4 separate regions of the Homo sapiens genome follow, and all the other regions are linked to region 4. The links are contacts of gene promoters, found by promoter capture Hi-C in blood cells and fetal thymus (Javierre and others, 2016). All regions are on one chromosome and are shown on one strand. Each heading gives the region's core, a stretch centred on a gene start or on the middle of the fragment in contact. The rest is flanking DNA. Distances are from core to core; before and after follow the strand shown.

Region 1 (4,074 bases), core at 989-3,488, 200 kb after region 4:
GACAAGTGGCTTCATTTCTTTGAGCCTCAGTTTCCTATCTGTAAAACGGCCAGTGGGGGCCGGGCCTGGTGGCTCATGCCTGTAATCCCAGCACTTTGGGAGGCCGAGGTGGGCGAATCACAAGGTCAGCAGTTCGAGACCAGCTTGGCCAATATGGTGAAACCCCATCTCTACTAATAATACACAAATTAGCTGGGTGTGGTGGTGGGCGCCTGTACTCCCAGCTACTCAGGAGGCTGAGGCAGGAGAATTGCTTGAACCCGGGAGGCGGAGGTTGCAGTGAGCCGAGATTGTGCTACTGCACTCCAGCCTGGCGACAGAGCAAGACTCTGTCTCAAAAAAAAAAAAAAAAAAAAGGCCGGAGGGCCCAGACATAGTGGCTCATGCCTGTAGTCCCAGAAATTTGAGTGACCAAGGCAGGAAGATCACATGAACCCAGAAGTTTGAGGCCAGCCCGGGCAACACAGGAAGATCCCATTTCTACACACACGCGCACACACACACACACACACAATTACCCAGGCATGGGGGCATGCGCCTGAAGTCCTAGCTATTTGGGAGGCTGAGACTGAAGGATCACTTAGGCCAGCGAGATTAAGGCTGCACTGAGCTGGGATTGTCCCACTGCACTCCAGTGTGGGTGAGAGAGCAAGATCTTTTTTTTTTTTTTTGGAGACAGAATCTTACTCTGTCACCCAGGCTGGAGTGCAGTGGTGCAATCTCAGCTCACTGCAACCTCCACCTCCCAGGTTCAAGCAATTCTCCTGCCTCAGCCTCCCAAGTAGCTGGGATTACAGGCGCCCACCACCACACCCAGCTAATTTTTGTATTTTTAGTAGAGACAGGGTTTCACCATGTTGGCCAAGCTGGTTTCGAACTCCTGACCTCAGGTGATCCACCTGCCTTGGTCTCCCTAAGTGCTGGGATTACAGGCATGAGCCACCACACCAGGCCACAAGATCTTGTCTCAAAAAAAAGAATGTCTATGTCTTAGACTCTGAGGGATTGAATGAGACCAGGAACATAGTGAGCCCACAGGAAGGAGTAACTGGCATTCACTCTTGTTGGGCTGACCAGGGCTTTGTCTCTGGGTGCTCTGCCTTCCTCTGATTTGTGGACTGGGGACCTTCGACTACTAAGGACTAACCCTTCCTCTCTAATCGCCCCCACTTCCAGAGAAGCGTCTGCACCGTTTGAACCTGCTGCAGTCTCATCCCCAGGAAGTGATGTACTTCCAACCCGGGGAGCCCTTTGGCTCTGTGGAAGACGACCACATCCCCTTCCTCCGCAGAGGTACCAGCTGCAGGGAGGGATGGAGGGTGGGTGTCCAAGGAAGCCACAAATTGGAACTGGCCAAGTCCCCTTCCCAGGGCTGGGGAATGGTGCTAAGTGGCCTTAACCTCTTTGTGCTTTGATTTATTCATCTGTAAAATGGGGATAATACTCCCTATCTTAGAGTATTGTTGAGGGGATTGAACATGCTAACACCGGTAAAGACCTTACTTGGACCAGCACCCAGCACATAGCAAGCATTCCAGAAATGTTTGCAGCTGGGCACGGTGGTTCACAGCTGTAATCCCAGCACTTTGGGAGGCTGAGCGGGGTGGCGGGGGGGGATCCTTGAGCCCAGGAGTTTGAAACCAGCCTGGGCAACATGGCATAAATCTTGTCTTTACTAAAAATACAAAAAAATTAGCCGGGCATGGTGGTTCACACCTATAGTCCCAGCTACTCGAGAGGCTGAAGTGGGAGGAGCACTTGGGCCTGGGAAGTCAAGGCTGCAGTAAGCCTTGATTGAGCCACTGCACTCTAGCCTGGACAACAGAGGGTGATGATATCTCAAAAAAAAAAAAAGTGCCAGGCTGGGCATGGTGGCTCACACCTGTAATCCTAGCACGTTGGGAGCCTGAGGCGGGCAGATCACCTGAGGTCAGTAGTTTGAGACCAGCCTGGCCAACATGATGAAACCCCATCTCTACTAAAAATACAAAAATTAGACAGGTGTCGTGGTGCCTGCCTATAATCCCAGCTACCCGGGAGGCTAAGACGGTAGAATCGCTGGAACCTGGGAGGCAGAGGCTGCAGTGAGCCGAGATCACGCCACTGCACTCCAGCCTGGGCGACAGAGTGAGACTCTGTCTCAAAAAAAAAAAAAAAGTGCCAGAACATAGTATCTTTCACCAGTGTGTGGTGGCAAGGCAAGGTTACCTAGAGGTTGGGCTTGGGCTCCTGGGTTGTGGTGGGCTGCAGTGGACCTGACAAAGTCTCCTCTGTCACTTCAGGGGTACCCGTGCTCCATCTCATCTCCACGCCCTTCCCTGCTGTCTGGCACACCCCTGCGGACACCGAGGTCAATCTCCACCCACCCACGGTACACAACTTGTGCCGCATTCTCGCTGTGTTCCTGGCTGAATACCTGGGGCTCTAGCGTGCTTGGCCAATGACTGTGGAGAGGACTGTGAGAGAGAAGGTCCCAGCGGGGGCCAGTGAAGCTCAGGCAGGATCTGCCTAGGGTGTGCTGGTTTGTCCTTTTCATACCTTTGTCTCCTAATTGTGCTACAATTGGAAGACCTTCTTTCTTTTGATTGTCTCAAGCTGCCACCCTTCAAGGACAGGGAAGAGACCACTGTGGGATGACAGCCAGAGGAATAAGAACTTGCTCCCTCCCCAGAGGTAAACACTTGGTCCAAAGGTTTGCAGGGACCAAATACTGTTCTTTTTTTTTTTGAGACGGAGTCTCACTGTGTTGCCCAGGCTGGAGTGCAGTGGTGCGATCTCGGCTCACTGCAAACTCCGCCTCCTGGGTTCACGCCATTCTCCTGCCTCAGCCTCCCAAGTAGCTGGGACTACAGGTGCCCGCCACCACGCTGGCTAATTTTTTGTATTTTTAGTAGAGACGGGGTTTCACCGTGTTAGCCAGGATGGTCTCGATCTCCTGACCTTGTAATCCGCCAGCCTCGGCCTCCCAAAGTGCTGGGATTACAGGTGTGAGCCACCGCACCTGGCAAAATGCTGTTCTTTAAGTCAGCGAACTGAAAAAGTAAAAGACTGCTGGGTGTGGTGGCTCACACCTGTAATCCCAACACTTTGAGAGGCTGAGGGGGAAGGATCACCCGAGGTCAGGAGTTTGAGACCAGCCTGGTCAACATGGCGAAACCCTGTCTCTACTAAAAATACAATAATTAGCTGGGCATGGTGGTGGGCGCCTGTAATCTCAGCTGCTTGGGAGGCTGAGGCAGGAGAATCACTTGTACGCAGGAGGCGGAGGTTGCAGTGAGCCAAGATCACACCACTGCACTCCAGCCTGGGCAACAGAGCGAGACTCCATCTCAATAAATAAATAAATAAATAAATATTTTTTAAAAAGAGTAAAAGACTAAAAGACTATTACTGGTCTGGCCCAGTGATGCCACCCAGCTAGATGAATTCTCTGTGGTTTGTGTTGTGTCAGTTCATTCTCCAGAACAGCAGCCTTGCTACTGCACCAGTCCTAACCTAACTCCCACACGGGGCACACAGAGGATGTCCTCATAACCAGGCACAGAGGAGACAGAAGCTCATATTTTGGAAGTCCAGATTCTTCCAGACCCAGTGGGTAATAAGCCATTGTTTCTGGCTGGGCATGGTGGTTCACACCTGTAATCCCAGCTCTTTGGGAGTCAGAGGCAGAGGGATAGCTTGAGCTCAGGAGTTTGAGACCAGCCTGGGCAACAGAGCATGACCCCATTCTCCAGAAAAAAGAAAGAAAAAAAAAAGCGTAACCAATGTTTCTGCAAAACACCACCTGCATAAGCCAGGTGTGGTGGTGCACACCCTGTAGTCTCAGCTATTCAGGAGGCTGAGGTGAGAGAATCCCATGAACCCAAGAGTTCAAGACCAGCCTGGGCAACACAGTGACACCCTGTCTCAAAACAAACACCACCACCACCAACAACAACAAAAAAGGCCATTCTGTAGAACTCGTGTAAATAGACATTGCATGACAAGGGGGATCTGAAATCCAAGAAGAGGGTGAGACAACATAAAATGAGTTTCCTCACTGCATCATGTGAATTTTTAAGACAGAACCCAGAG
Region 2 (3,723 bases), core at 421-2,920, 210 kb after region 4:
CAAGGCTCAATTCCTTACTTCATTCAGGTCTGTGTTCAAATGCAGTTTTATTAGAGAGGCCTTCTCCAACTCCCTTCCTGGAAATCACCCACCTGCCCAGAGGGGACCTCTGGGTTCCCTCTTCCCTGCCTACTCTGGGTCATCGTCTGGGGTGGGTCTCTCTCCAGGCCTGAGACAGGATCTTCTAACTCCCCCACACTGAGCCCAGCATAAGGCCCTACACTAGGTCAGCCTTCAGCAACTACTCCATGAAAATCTATTCATTGTAAAACATTGTGAACCAAAAATATGGAAAATCAAAAGACGGCAAAAAACTGGCTGGGAAAACACGAACCAAGAGACAAGTAGAGGAGTAACATTACCCCTTAAAAAAAAAAAAAAAAAAACTTGGCCAGGCACGGTGGCTCACACCTGTAATCCCAGCACTTTGGGAGGCAGAGGGGGGACACAATCCCTTGAGCTCAGGAGTCTGCGACCAGCCTGGGCAACATGGTGAAACCCCATCACTACAAAAAATACACAAATTAGCAGGGTGTGGTGGCACGTGCCTGTAGTCCCAAGTACTCAGGAGGCTGAGGTGGGAGGATTGCTTGAGCCCAGGAGGTAGAGGCTGCAGTGAGCTCAGATCAGGCCACTGCACTCCACTCTGGGTGACAGCACGAGACTGTCTTAAATTAAATTAAAAATAAATTAAATAAATAAAAAATAAATAAACTGACAAAAGCAATGGATGATGACGAAACAAAATGACCAATTATTTACTTCTCTACATGAGTCCCTAGGGCTGGGGGAGGGAGGTGGAAGTGACCCATTATACACAAAAGTTCTCAACATACATGATCCAAATACTATGGCTTCCAAATAGATAAAGCAAAAAACGACCATCTCTACACATGACAGCCATAAACTTACAAATGACAAGGGAAAGTTTGTTAAATCCACAATTGATATGGGAAAACAACATATTTCTAAGAAAAGACTGCTTGGGAAAATTAGTAAGGACCTGAACCACTCAATCTACACCCTTGGTTGAATGCCCCCAACAATTAAATAATCCACATATTTACATCCCTAGCATACATACATACATGGTGCATTTGCAAAAACTTGTCTCTGACATTCACTGTGGTCCTGCATGCTGGCCATTGTTGGGCGCTGGAACACACAGGTGACACTGAGCTCCCCAGGAATGGCTCATGGGAAAGGGGTCAGACATCCAAACAAACAGTCAGAACCAACATGAATATATTAGAAAATGATAATCACAACAGCAGTCAATACTCGAGCACTCTACAAATATGAACTTGTTTGATTCTTCTATCTCCTATTTTTAATTTCGTGTTGAAGATAAGGAAACTGAGGCAGAGAATGGCTAAGTAATTGCCCTCATTTATAGCTTTGTAGCAGAACTCTGTTTTTGTGAGTGTGTGTTTTGTTTTTTGTTGTTTTCTGAGATGGTCTCACTGTCACCCAGGCTGGAGTGCAATCTCGCCTCAACGCAGCCTCAATCTCCTGGGCTCAAGTGATCCTCCCATCTCAGCTGCCTTCTTTTTTGTTTTTTTTTTTAAGACGGAGTCTTGCTCTGTTGCCCAGGCTGGAGTGTAACGGTGCGATCTCGGCTCACTGCAATCACTGCAACCTCTGCCTCCCGGTTCAAGCGATTTGCTTGCCTAAGCCTCCCAAGTAGCTGGGACTACAGGTGTGCGCCACCATGTCCAGATAATTTTTTCATTTTTAGTAGAGATGGAGTTTCACCATGTTGGCCAGACTGGTCTCGAACTCCTGACCTCAGGTGATCCACCCCACCTTGGCCTCCCAAAGTGTTGAGATTACAGGCGTGAGCCACTGCACCTGGCCTAATATTTGTATTTTTAGTAGAGACAGGGTTTCACCATGTTGATCAGGCTGGTCTTGAACTCCTTACCTCAAGTGATCCACCCGCCTCAGCCTCCCAAAGTGCTAGGATTACAGGTGTGAGCCACTGTGCCCAGCCTATCCCAGCCTTTTGAGGAGCTGAAACCACAGGTGTATACCAGCACGCCCAGCTAATTTTTACATTTTTTTGTACTGATGAGGTCTCACTATGTTGCCTAGGCCAGTCTTGAACTCTTGAACTCAAGCAATCCTCCACCTTGGCCTCCCCAAGTGCTGGGACTACAGGCAGGAGCAACCACACCAAGTCAGAACTTAGAATCAAAGATCAGCTGACTCCAGAGCTCAAGGTCTAAACTACAATATAAACATCATCCTGGCTGGGCGCAGTGGCTCACACCTGTAATGTGGTGGCAGGCTCCTGTAATCCCAGCTACTCAGGAGCTTGAGACAGGAGAATCGGAGAATTGCTTGAACCCAGGAGGCGTGGCTGCAATGAGCCGAGATTGCACCACTGCACTCCAGCCTGGGTGACAGAGCAAGACTCTCAGCCAAAAAAAAAAAAAAAAAGAAGTGAAGCGGGGAAAAAAACAACAGAATAAACCAAACAAATAAGGAAAAATAGGCCACGTGTGGTGGCTCGCGCCTGTAATCCCAGCACTTTGGGAAGCCGAGGCAGACAGATCGCTTAAGCCAATGAATTTGAGACCAGCCTGGGCAACATGGCAAAACCCCGTCTCTACTAAAAATACAAAAATTAGCCAGCATGTGCCTGCAGTCACAGCTACTCGGGAGGCTGAAGTGGGAGGATCGCTTGAGCCCGGAAGTGGAGGGTGCAGTGAGCTGAGATTTTGCCACTGCACTCCAGCCTGGGTGCCAAAGCGAGACCCTGGCTCAAAAACACCAAAACAGAAAGAAAGAATGGAAAAATAATGATAAATGGTAAAGCGTAGATGTCTGACCCCACCCCACTTCCCCATCCCCACCCCTAGTCAGATGACCCCGCTCCCCATCACAGGGCCAGGGTCACACCCAGCACAAGGCACTTGCCCAGTTACATGGGAATTGGTGGCAGGACACCAGGGTTTCGTTCCTGGTCCTGTTCCTTTTTTTTTTTTTTTTTTTGACAGGGTCTTGTTCTGTCACCCAGGCTGGAGTGCAGTGGCACGATCTCGGCTCACTCGAACCTCTGCCTCGTGGGTTCAAGCAATTCTCCTGCCTCAGCCTCCCAAGTAGCTGGGACTACAGGCGCCCGCCACCACACCCGGCTAATTATTTATATTTTTAGTAGAGTTTCACCATGTTAGCCAGGATGGTCTCGGTCTCCTGACCTCGTGATCCACCCAAAGTGCTGGGATTATAGGCGTGAGCCACCACGCCCGGCACCACCCCACCCTTTTTTTTTCTTTTTTTGAGATGGAGTCGTGCTGTTGCCCAAGCTGGAGTGCAGTAACACGATCTCGTCTCACTGTAACCTCCACCTCCCCTGCCTCAGCCTCCTGAGTAGCTGGGATTATAGGCACCTGCCACCATGCCCGGCTAATTTTCGTATTTTTAGTAGAGACAGGGTTTCACCATGTTGGCCAGGCTGGTCTTGAACTCCTGATCTCAGATGATCCACCCACTTCCCGTAGTGCTGGGATTACAGGCATGATGCACCGCGCCCGGTCCCTGTTCCTTCTATGCCCTACCCTGCTGCTCCTTTGTCCAGAATCCTGACTCATCCATACCTCACCCATGGCTTGTTGGCCTTAGAGTCCACTGGGTCCCCTCCCTTTTAAGTTTTCCTTTCTGACTAATGGTCCCTGAAGGCAGGAATCATCCAAGCCCTGAGATCCTGGAAGCAGACAG
Region 3 (3,921 bases), core at 1,422-3,921, 160 kb after region 4:
AGTGGCTCACGCCTGTAATCCCAGCACTTTGGGAGACTGAGGCGGGAGGATCACGAGGTCAGGAGTTCAAGACCAGCCTGGCCAACATGGTGAAAACTTGTCTCTACTAAAAATACAAAAATTAGCTGGGCATGGTGGCGCGTGCCTGTAATCCCAGCTACCCGGGAGGCTGAGGCAGGATAATTGCTTGAACCAGGACCCGGGAGGTGGAGATTGCAGTGAGCCAAGATCACGCCACTGTACTCCAGCCTGGGCTACAGAGGGAGACTCGGCCAAAAAAAAAAAAAAAATTATTAGCCGGGCATGGTTGCGGGCGCCTGTAATCCCAGCTACTTGGGAGGCTAAGACAGGAGAACTGCTTGAACCTGGGAAGCAGAGGTTCCAGTGAGCTGAGATCGTGCCACTGCACTCCAGCCTGGGCGACAGAGTGAGACTCCATCCCAAGAAAGAAAGAGAGAAAGGGAGAAAGGGAGGAAGGGAGGGGGGAGGGGAGAGGGGAGAGGGGAGAGGAAAAGGAAAGGAAAGTCCTTTGCAGCAACACAGATGCAGCTGGAGGCCAGTATCCTAAGTGAATTAACAAAGGAACAGAAATCCAAACACCAGATGCTCTTACTTATAAGTGGGAGCTGAGCACTGGGTACACATGGACACCAACATGCGAACAACAGACACTGGGGACTCCTAGAGGGGGCAGGGAAGGAGACAAGGGTTAAAAAACTACCCGTTGGGTGCCATGCTCACTACCTGGATGATGGGATCATTTATACCCCCAACCTCCGCATCGTGCAATACACCCCCGTGACAAACCTGCACATGTGCCCCCTGAATCTAAAATAAAAGTTAAGGCCAGGCGCGGTGGTTCATACCTGTAATCCCAGCACTTTGGGAGGCCAAGGCGGGAGGATCACTTGAGGCCAGGAGTTGGAGAACAATATGGCCAACATGGTGAAACCTCATCTCTACTAAAAATATAAAAATCAGCCAGGCGTGGTGGCATACACCTGTAGTCCCAGCTACTCTGGTGGTTGAGGCATGAGAATCGCCTGAACCCAAGAGGCAGAGGTTGCCAAGTTGGCGCCACTGCACTCCAGCCTGGGTGACAGAGTGAGACCCTGTCTAGAAAAAATAATAAATAAAATGAATTAAAATAAATGAATAAATAAATAAATAAAAGTTGAGGCTGGGTGTGATGGCACATCCCTGTAGTCCCAGCACTTTGGGAGGCCGAGGCAGGAGGATTGCTTGAGGCCAAGAGTTGGAGACCAGCATGGCCAACATGGTGAAACCCCATCTCTACTAAAAATACAAAAATTTTAGCTGGGTGTGGTGGCACACACCTGTAGTCCCAGCTACTCGGGAGGCTGAGGCAGGAGAATCTCCTGAACCCTGGAGGCGGAGGTTGAAGTGAGCCAAGATGGCGCCACTGCACTCCATCCTGGGTGACAGAGTGAGACCCTGTCTCAAAAAAAAAAAAGTTGAAATTATTTTTTAATAAAATGGTGGGGCATGGTGGCTCATGCCCATAGTCCCAGCTAGTCAAGAGGCTGAGTTAAGAGGATCCCTTGAGCCCAGGAAGTGGAGGCTGCAGTGAGCTATAATTGTTCCAGTGCACTCCACTCTCATAAATAAATAAATAAATAAAATGTAAAAAGGATTGTATGGGCCGGGTGTGGTGGCTGTCGCCTGTAATCCCACCACTTTGGAAGGCCAAGACATGTGGAACACCTGAGGTCAGGAGTTTGAGACCAGCCTGGGCAACATGGTGAAACACCGTCTCTACTAAAAATACAAAAATTAGTCGGTTGTGGTGGTGTGTGCCTGGAATCCCAGCTACTTGGGAGGCTGCGGTGGGAGAATTGCTTGAACCCAGGAGGCGGAGGTTGCAGTGAGCTGAGATCATGCTTCTGTACTCCAGCCTCAGCAACAGAGGAAGACTCTGTCTCAAAAAAAAAAAATTCTATGTCTGCGAGTAACCACACAACTGCATACTGCGTATATTTATTTCATGACAATCCTTCCTTGAACCCCTGCTCTTAACGATTTTGGGGACCCAGTGGTGACCCAGATGTCCTGGCTCTACCCTCCTGGGCCACACAGGCTAGCAGGGCAACAGTGTTTGTGATGAAACCCGGTGATTGCGTGAATGTGTGGGTGATTGACAGTGTTGTTGGAACTGTGAGACACTGTGAGCGTTACTGTGTGTGTGCAGGAGTCCATAGCCCTGGGTACATGACTGTGTGTCACAGTGGATGACTGTCCACCTGTGAGTGAGAGACTGTGGCTGTCTGGGTGTGACCATGGGACTGTATGGGTGTGACTGAATGTGTGACTGTGTGAGTAACAGCTTGTGAGGTTCTGTGACTGTGCCTTTCCATGGCTCAGCCTATGGGATTGTGTGTGACACTGCATGTTTGATTGAGTGACTGAGGCTCTGGGAATGAGTGGCGGTGGGGGCGGGTACCTGTGGGTGGGACAGCATGAGAGATTGTACACACTTGGTGCAGGGGTCCTCAGGACGATAAGGACAATTCAGTAACTGCCCTCCCTCATGACCTTGATGACTGCCCCCTGCTCGGCTCTCTGCCCCAGAGCTCCCCGCTTCCGTTCCCTGTCCCGCCTTGGCCCCGCCCCCTCCCATCACCCCGGGCTGCCAGCGCCTGTCACCTCTCCCAGAGCCGAGACAAGGCAGTTGGAGGCAGCGGTGGCAGGGGCTGCAGGAGCAAGTGACCAGGAGCAGGACTGGGGACAGGTGAGGGCTCCCCAATCCCAGCCCATTCTCCCTGCCCCCCCTTGACCTCTCAAGTCTCTGGCACTCTCCCTCTCTGCTTCTCTGCCCTGCCTTTGTCTCTCTGTCTCTGTGCCCACCACCATCTCTGCTCATCTCTGTCTCTTGATGTCTCTGTCTGCGTGTTTCCATCTCTGGTTAGCTGCTAGATAACTTCTCTTTCCCCTGCTCTGTCTCCCTCCACGTCTCTGCCTCTTCTTTGTCTCCTAGCCCACATCTGCGTCTCTTTCTCTGTTTGTTTTTCTCTGGTCTCTGGCTGGGGGTCTCATTCTGTCCCTCCGTCTCTGCGCCTCTCAGTCTTTACATTTCTGTCTCTTGTGTCTGTGACGCCGTTGTCTGTCCTTCTGAGGCTCGACCTGAGATCCTCTCTGCTTCCGTCTTTCTCTACGTGGAGCCGCGGGGGCGCGGGTGAGTGGGTGTCGGGCGTTAGACCGATTTCCAGGCATCTGCACATCTAACCCCGGATCTGTCGCTTCTCTAGTCCCTAAGTATTTGGATGCTGGGAAAGGGTTGTTCCACTTACTCTGGGCTTTATCTACCCCCAGCGGGGAAAGTTTTGTAAGGTCAGGTTCCTATGTGTGCTAGAAAACCCTTTGGGCTTGGAGAGTGGGAGCTCGGATGGGCGTTTCAAGTTCTCCACCAGGCTGTGGGAACTCAGATGGGCGTTTCAAGTACCCCACTAGGGGGTACTGAAAACCTTCAAGTTTTTCAGTTCCCCATAGAAAAGGGGTCTAGGCTGACGGTTTCTACCCCCTCCTCTCCAAGGCGGTCCCCGGGTTCCCAGGAGTCTGTAGGTCCAGACTTCGGTGACACTGACACTTCCGCCCAGCGTAGCTCTAGGGCAACCGCCCGCTCAGCAAACACCCCCCCCTTCCACCTTTGCTGCCCCAACAACAGTCAGGGGAGGCCGGGGAATCACTTAAGGGGCCCCGCCCACCACCGGAGTTCCACCCACTCCGCGTGCCTCTCCCTCCCCCCAGATCATCACGCCTGGGAGTTGCGGGAGCGGGTGCGCTGCCTCGGAGTCCCGCGTGTATACGGCTCCCCAGCCGTCTGCCCCTGTGTGTGAATCCCTGAGGCGGGGTGACGCTGGGGTTGGAGTAGGAGGGCAGAGGTGCTGACCTTGCCCTGGGACC
Region 4 (3,575 bases), core at 418-2,917:
GGGTGCAGTGGCTCATGCCTGTAATCCTAGCACTTTGGGAGACTGAGGCAGGCAGATCACCTGAGGTCATAAGTTTGAGACCAGCCTGGCCAACATGGTGAAATCCCATCTCTACTAAAAATACAAAAATTAGTTGGGCTTGGTGGCCCGTGCCTGTAATCCCAGCTACTTTAGGAGGGTGAGGCAGGAGAATTGCTTGAACCCAGGAGGGGGAGGTTGCAGTAAGCGGGGATCGAGCCAGCGCCCTCCAGCCTGGGTGACAGCGAGAGACTACATCTCAAAAAAAAAAAAAGAAAAAAAGAAATTTAGTCTACCCATTCTCCCAGACAACTCAGCCTGAGGAAACACACTGAGAAACAATGATAACCTCCGAGGAACAGGGTTCAAGGTCTCCCAGAGTGGGGTGGAGAAGGGGAGGGGAATTAATGTCAAAGCTTGGCCTGGAAGGATGACGTGCTCCCCAGGTAAAGGAGGTCAGGACAACATCAACATCCGGACATGGGACTCGGCTTGGACATACGCTGGAAAAGTGGATTCTCTCACATAGTCAGCTGGCCCTGAGAATTGTTGGTTTTACACTCAGACCTTGGTGGCTTTCCGGGTTCTGGGGGCTCAGGCAAGAGGGCCATAGGCCAGATTCATTCCCTGTCTCCAGGCCTCAGTTTACCCGTGTGTAAATGTGGAACTAACTGATTTCCCAGGGCTCGGGCGCCTCACCCGGGCCAGGTGGCGCTCTACCCAAGGGGCGCGACCAAATCAGTGACGTCACTCGGGGCGGGGCCGGCAAGACACGCTGCGGAAGCCTCAGAGGGTGTCTGGGCTCAGCCCGGAGCCGGCGTGTGGGGGCGGGGGCTCCCGGGAGGGTCTCCTCACCTCCGGGCCCTCCTGAGGGCTGGGATGATCCTGCTGTCCTCCGCAGGCGAAACTGAGTCAGAGCGGGGCGTGCGTGGGCCGGAGGCTTTACACACCAAAGAAGCCGGCGCCTCCTGCCCACCCCGGGCGAATGCCGGGCCCCCCACTCCCGCACTCCTCGCCAGTCCCCACCTCCACCCCACCCCACCCCCGACCCTGCGGCTGTGAGTCAGCGACCGACCGCGCCCCCTTGGCCCACTTCCTCCTCACCTTCCCGGGGCGGGCGGGGTGGGGTGAGAGGGGTTGGGCCCTACTCCCCCGACTTCCACTCCCGTGCGGGTGGGGGTCTCGCCCCCTTAGTAACCTCTCCGAAATTGACAGAAGAGAAACGCTGGGGAGGGGCGGTGTTCCGAAGATGGGATTTCAGGGAGAAAATCTGAGACCACTTGCTTAACTTGAGGGTCCTCCTCGACCCCCAAAATTGAGCGGAGTACGAGATGGAGAAGTCGATGGGGAAAGAAATCGCGCCCCTTCCGAGACCCTCCTCAGAATTCCCACAGTGGGAGCGAACTAGGAAGCAAGGGAGGTCCCCTTCCCCTTCACCAACTTGCCCCTCAGGTGGGGGTGATTCCCAGGGTGCACCCCTGGGCTACAACATTGGGGAGAGGAGCGAGATCGCGGAAGCCGAGGGTGCAGAGTTGCCCTTTTAAGCGCCCTCCACCCCCTCGCCTGGAGGCGCACGCGGCCCCTTTAAGGCGCGGGGCATTGTGGGTGCGGGGAGTGGAATTTTGGAACGAAATGTAACGAAGAGAAGTACAGTAGTAAGAGTAACACTGTAGCCGCCACCGGCAAGGGGTGCGCGCTGGGGAGCGGACGCTGCATCCCCTTTCTGCTGCAGGAACCTCTCATCAGACCGCCTGAGGGAAGCGGCGCCCGGAGACCCGCCCCGGCCCGGTCCACATTCTCCCCAGGAAGCCGGACTCTATGGGGCGGGACCCTGGGGGAGCCTGAGCCGAGCCCGGAGCCAGCCCCGAACCCCTGAACCTCCAGCCAGGGGCGCCCCGGGAGCAGCCAGCCCGTGGGCGAGCCGCCCGCCCGCCGAGCAGCCATGAGGTGAGCCGGACCTGCCCCCCGACCCGTCCCCGCCCGGGCGGGCTCCGCGCCCCGCCTTTGTCCCCCTCCCCCCCAGCTAGCTCCGGGCTGGAATTTGGGGACAGATCCTTGGGAGCCTCGGATTTGAGCTGAATCCCCTTGGACGCGCCCCAGAACCGTCGATCACTTCTCCACGACTGACTCCCCAAGCTCGGGGGGTGGTGGCGGTGAGGTTCTCCTGGGAGCCCTCAAGATTTGGGGGCGCTCGGAGGACTCCCGAATTGTTAAGACTTTTTTTAGAGGACCTCAAAGTTGGCAGCGACTCCCCGCAGGGATGCCAGGATTGAGGCAGGGCTCAGACTCTCCTCCCCCTCCCCCCAGACTTCAGCTCGAGGTCCGGGAAGGATTGTGGGGGACCGATTTGGGATACCCTGGGACTTGGAAGAGAGACTGAGACTCAGACCCTGGGTGTGCAGGTCCCCCGTTTACTTGGTGCTGGAAAAAGTCTCCCCAAGTGGGACCGCGCTCCATAACTTCGGGGGTACTTCTTAATCCCCTGGATTTTGGGGGTCACTTAGGTCTTCCTGTGGAGGAGGCTGGTGTGAACCGATCCAGGGACCTGGACGCAGCCTCCAGAGTCTGGTGGGACCCCCCCCTTCCCCGTCGCTCCGCACACAATCTGCTTAACTGGCCGTGCCTAGGACCGAGCGGGCGCTCGGAGCAGAGGGCGGCTCCCCGCCTCCGGCCATAAGGGCGGCCCGGCTCCCCCACCTGCGCGGCCCTGGAGAGGGAGGGGGCGCGGCAGCTGGGGGAAGGGGGCCTTTGTCTTCCTGACTCACCTGTCGAGACAGCTGGTGTGGGGGGCGGGCACCAAGCGCTGTAGGCCGGCTGCCTTCCCCACCACGGCCCCTCCCCCTTTGCTCACCGTCCCCCTATCCACCCGGAGCCTTGGGGTTGGAGGAGGGGGAGCTGGAAAGCTTCAAGGTCATAGCCCTCTTCCCTAGGGACCCAGGCTTCCCAGATAATTCCAGCTATCTTCCCAGGAATTTAATCCTGGGGGTGGCGGCCCAAGGGACCCAGGGATTTGGTCTGGCCGGGGCCTCCCCCGAACTCCTGGGCTCACCTGAGGGCGGGGCCAGTGTGGGCAGGGGGGCCCAACCATCCCCCCTATTCTTCCCTCCCCTGGCCCCCCATAATCTCTCCCATGGGGCCAGAGCCTGACAATACTATCTCCCTTCCTCTACTCTCTCTGGGACTTCCTGCCCCAAAGCCCCCAGCCTGAGCAGGGAGGCCCCTGGGGACGGTTGGGGATTAACCCCGTGGTGCCCACATCCCCCGCATTTCCTGAACCCCTGCCCTTTGACATCGGAGTGGCGTGGCATTCCTTTTTATGACCACTAGAGAATCCCCCTCCCGCGTTTGTTCCTTCTGATGTGAAAGGCATGGCTGGAAAATTTGGAGCAAGGAGGACACCCACAGATACCCTCAAGACTTCCTGCCTATCCGCTCCCCATTATAGCAACATCCCTTCCAAGTCCGCCCTGGAGAGGGGTCAGTTTAGGGAGCGTCGCTCTCTTCCTTCGCCCTCTTCCTCCGGGACTCTTCTCTCCCCTTGCCCCCCAGCCCCGCCC

Evidence for each region. The method cuts DNA at HindIII sites, captures the fragments that hold promoters and counts their contacts. A CHiCAGO score of 5 or more calls a contact.
Region 1: a contact is called between a fragment that was not itself captured here and the fragment with the promoter of VASP in region 4, in 1 of 17 cell types (total CD8 T cells). The highest score is 5.6, in total CD8 T cells.
Region 2: a contact is called between a fragment that was not itself captured here and the fragment with the promoter of VASP in region 4, in 7 of 17 cell types (naive CD4 T cells, naive CD8 T cells, non-activated CD4 T cells and 4 more). The highest score is 6.8, in naive CD4 T cells.
Region 3: a contact is called between the fragment with the promoter of GIPR here and the fragment with the promoter of VASP in region 4, in 12 of 17 cell types (naive CD4 T cells, endothelial precursors, activated CD4 T cells and 9 more). The highest score is 11.9, in naive CD4 T cells.

The regions. Positions count from the first base shown.
Region 1 is chr19:45,700,622-45,704,695 of GRCh38, forward strand. It overlaps QPCTL (glutaminyl-peptide cyclotransferase like), which reads left to right. Exons shown (of 7, transcript NM_017659.4): 6 at 1,177-1,293; 7 at 2,283-3,366. The coding sequence ends at 2,428. Among named protein-coding and RNA genes, the nearest start is that of QPCTL, 10 kb to the left of the region's middle. The HindIII fragment of the contact is 9,587 bases long and covers 1-4,074 here.
Region 2 is chr19:45,718,576-45,722,298 of GRCh38, forward strand. The region is part of intron 1 of FBXO46 (F-box protein 46); the gene reads right to left. Among named protein-coding and RNA genes, the nearest start is that of FBXO46, 10 kb to the right of the region's middle. RefSeq lists an enhancer at 2,075-2,575 and silencers at 3,456-3,723, 3,496-3,723. The HindIII fragment of the contact is 7,644 bases long and covers 1-3,723 here.
Region 3 is chr19:45,665,550-45,669,470 of GRCh38, forward strand. GIPR (gastric inhibitory polypeptide receptor) reads left to right here and starts at 2,672. Exons shown (of 14, transcript NM_000164.4): 1 at 2,672-2,749. RefSeq lists a silencer at 2,557-2,716 and an enhancer at 3,097-3,376. The HindIII fragment of the contact is 25,981 bases long and covers 1-3,921 here.
Region 4 is chr19:45,505,812-45,509,386 of GRCh38, forward strand. VASP (vasodilator stimulated phosphoprotein) reads left to right here and starts at 1,668. Exons shown (of 13, transcript NM_003370.4): 1 at 1,668-1,965. The coding sequence starts at 1,961. LOC107985314 (a long non-coding RNA gene) reads right to left here and starts at 1,563. Exons shown (of 2, transcript XR_007067269.1): 1 at 874-1,563. RefSeq lists silencers at 729-978, 1,009-1,138, 1,819-1,998, 2,593-2,792 and enhancers at 1,333-2,117, 1,399-1,668. The HindIII fragment of the contact is 2,487 bases long and covers 433-2,919 here.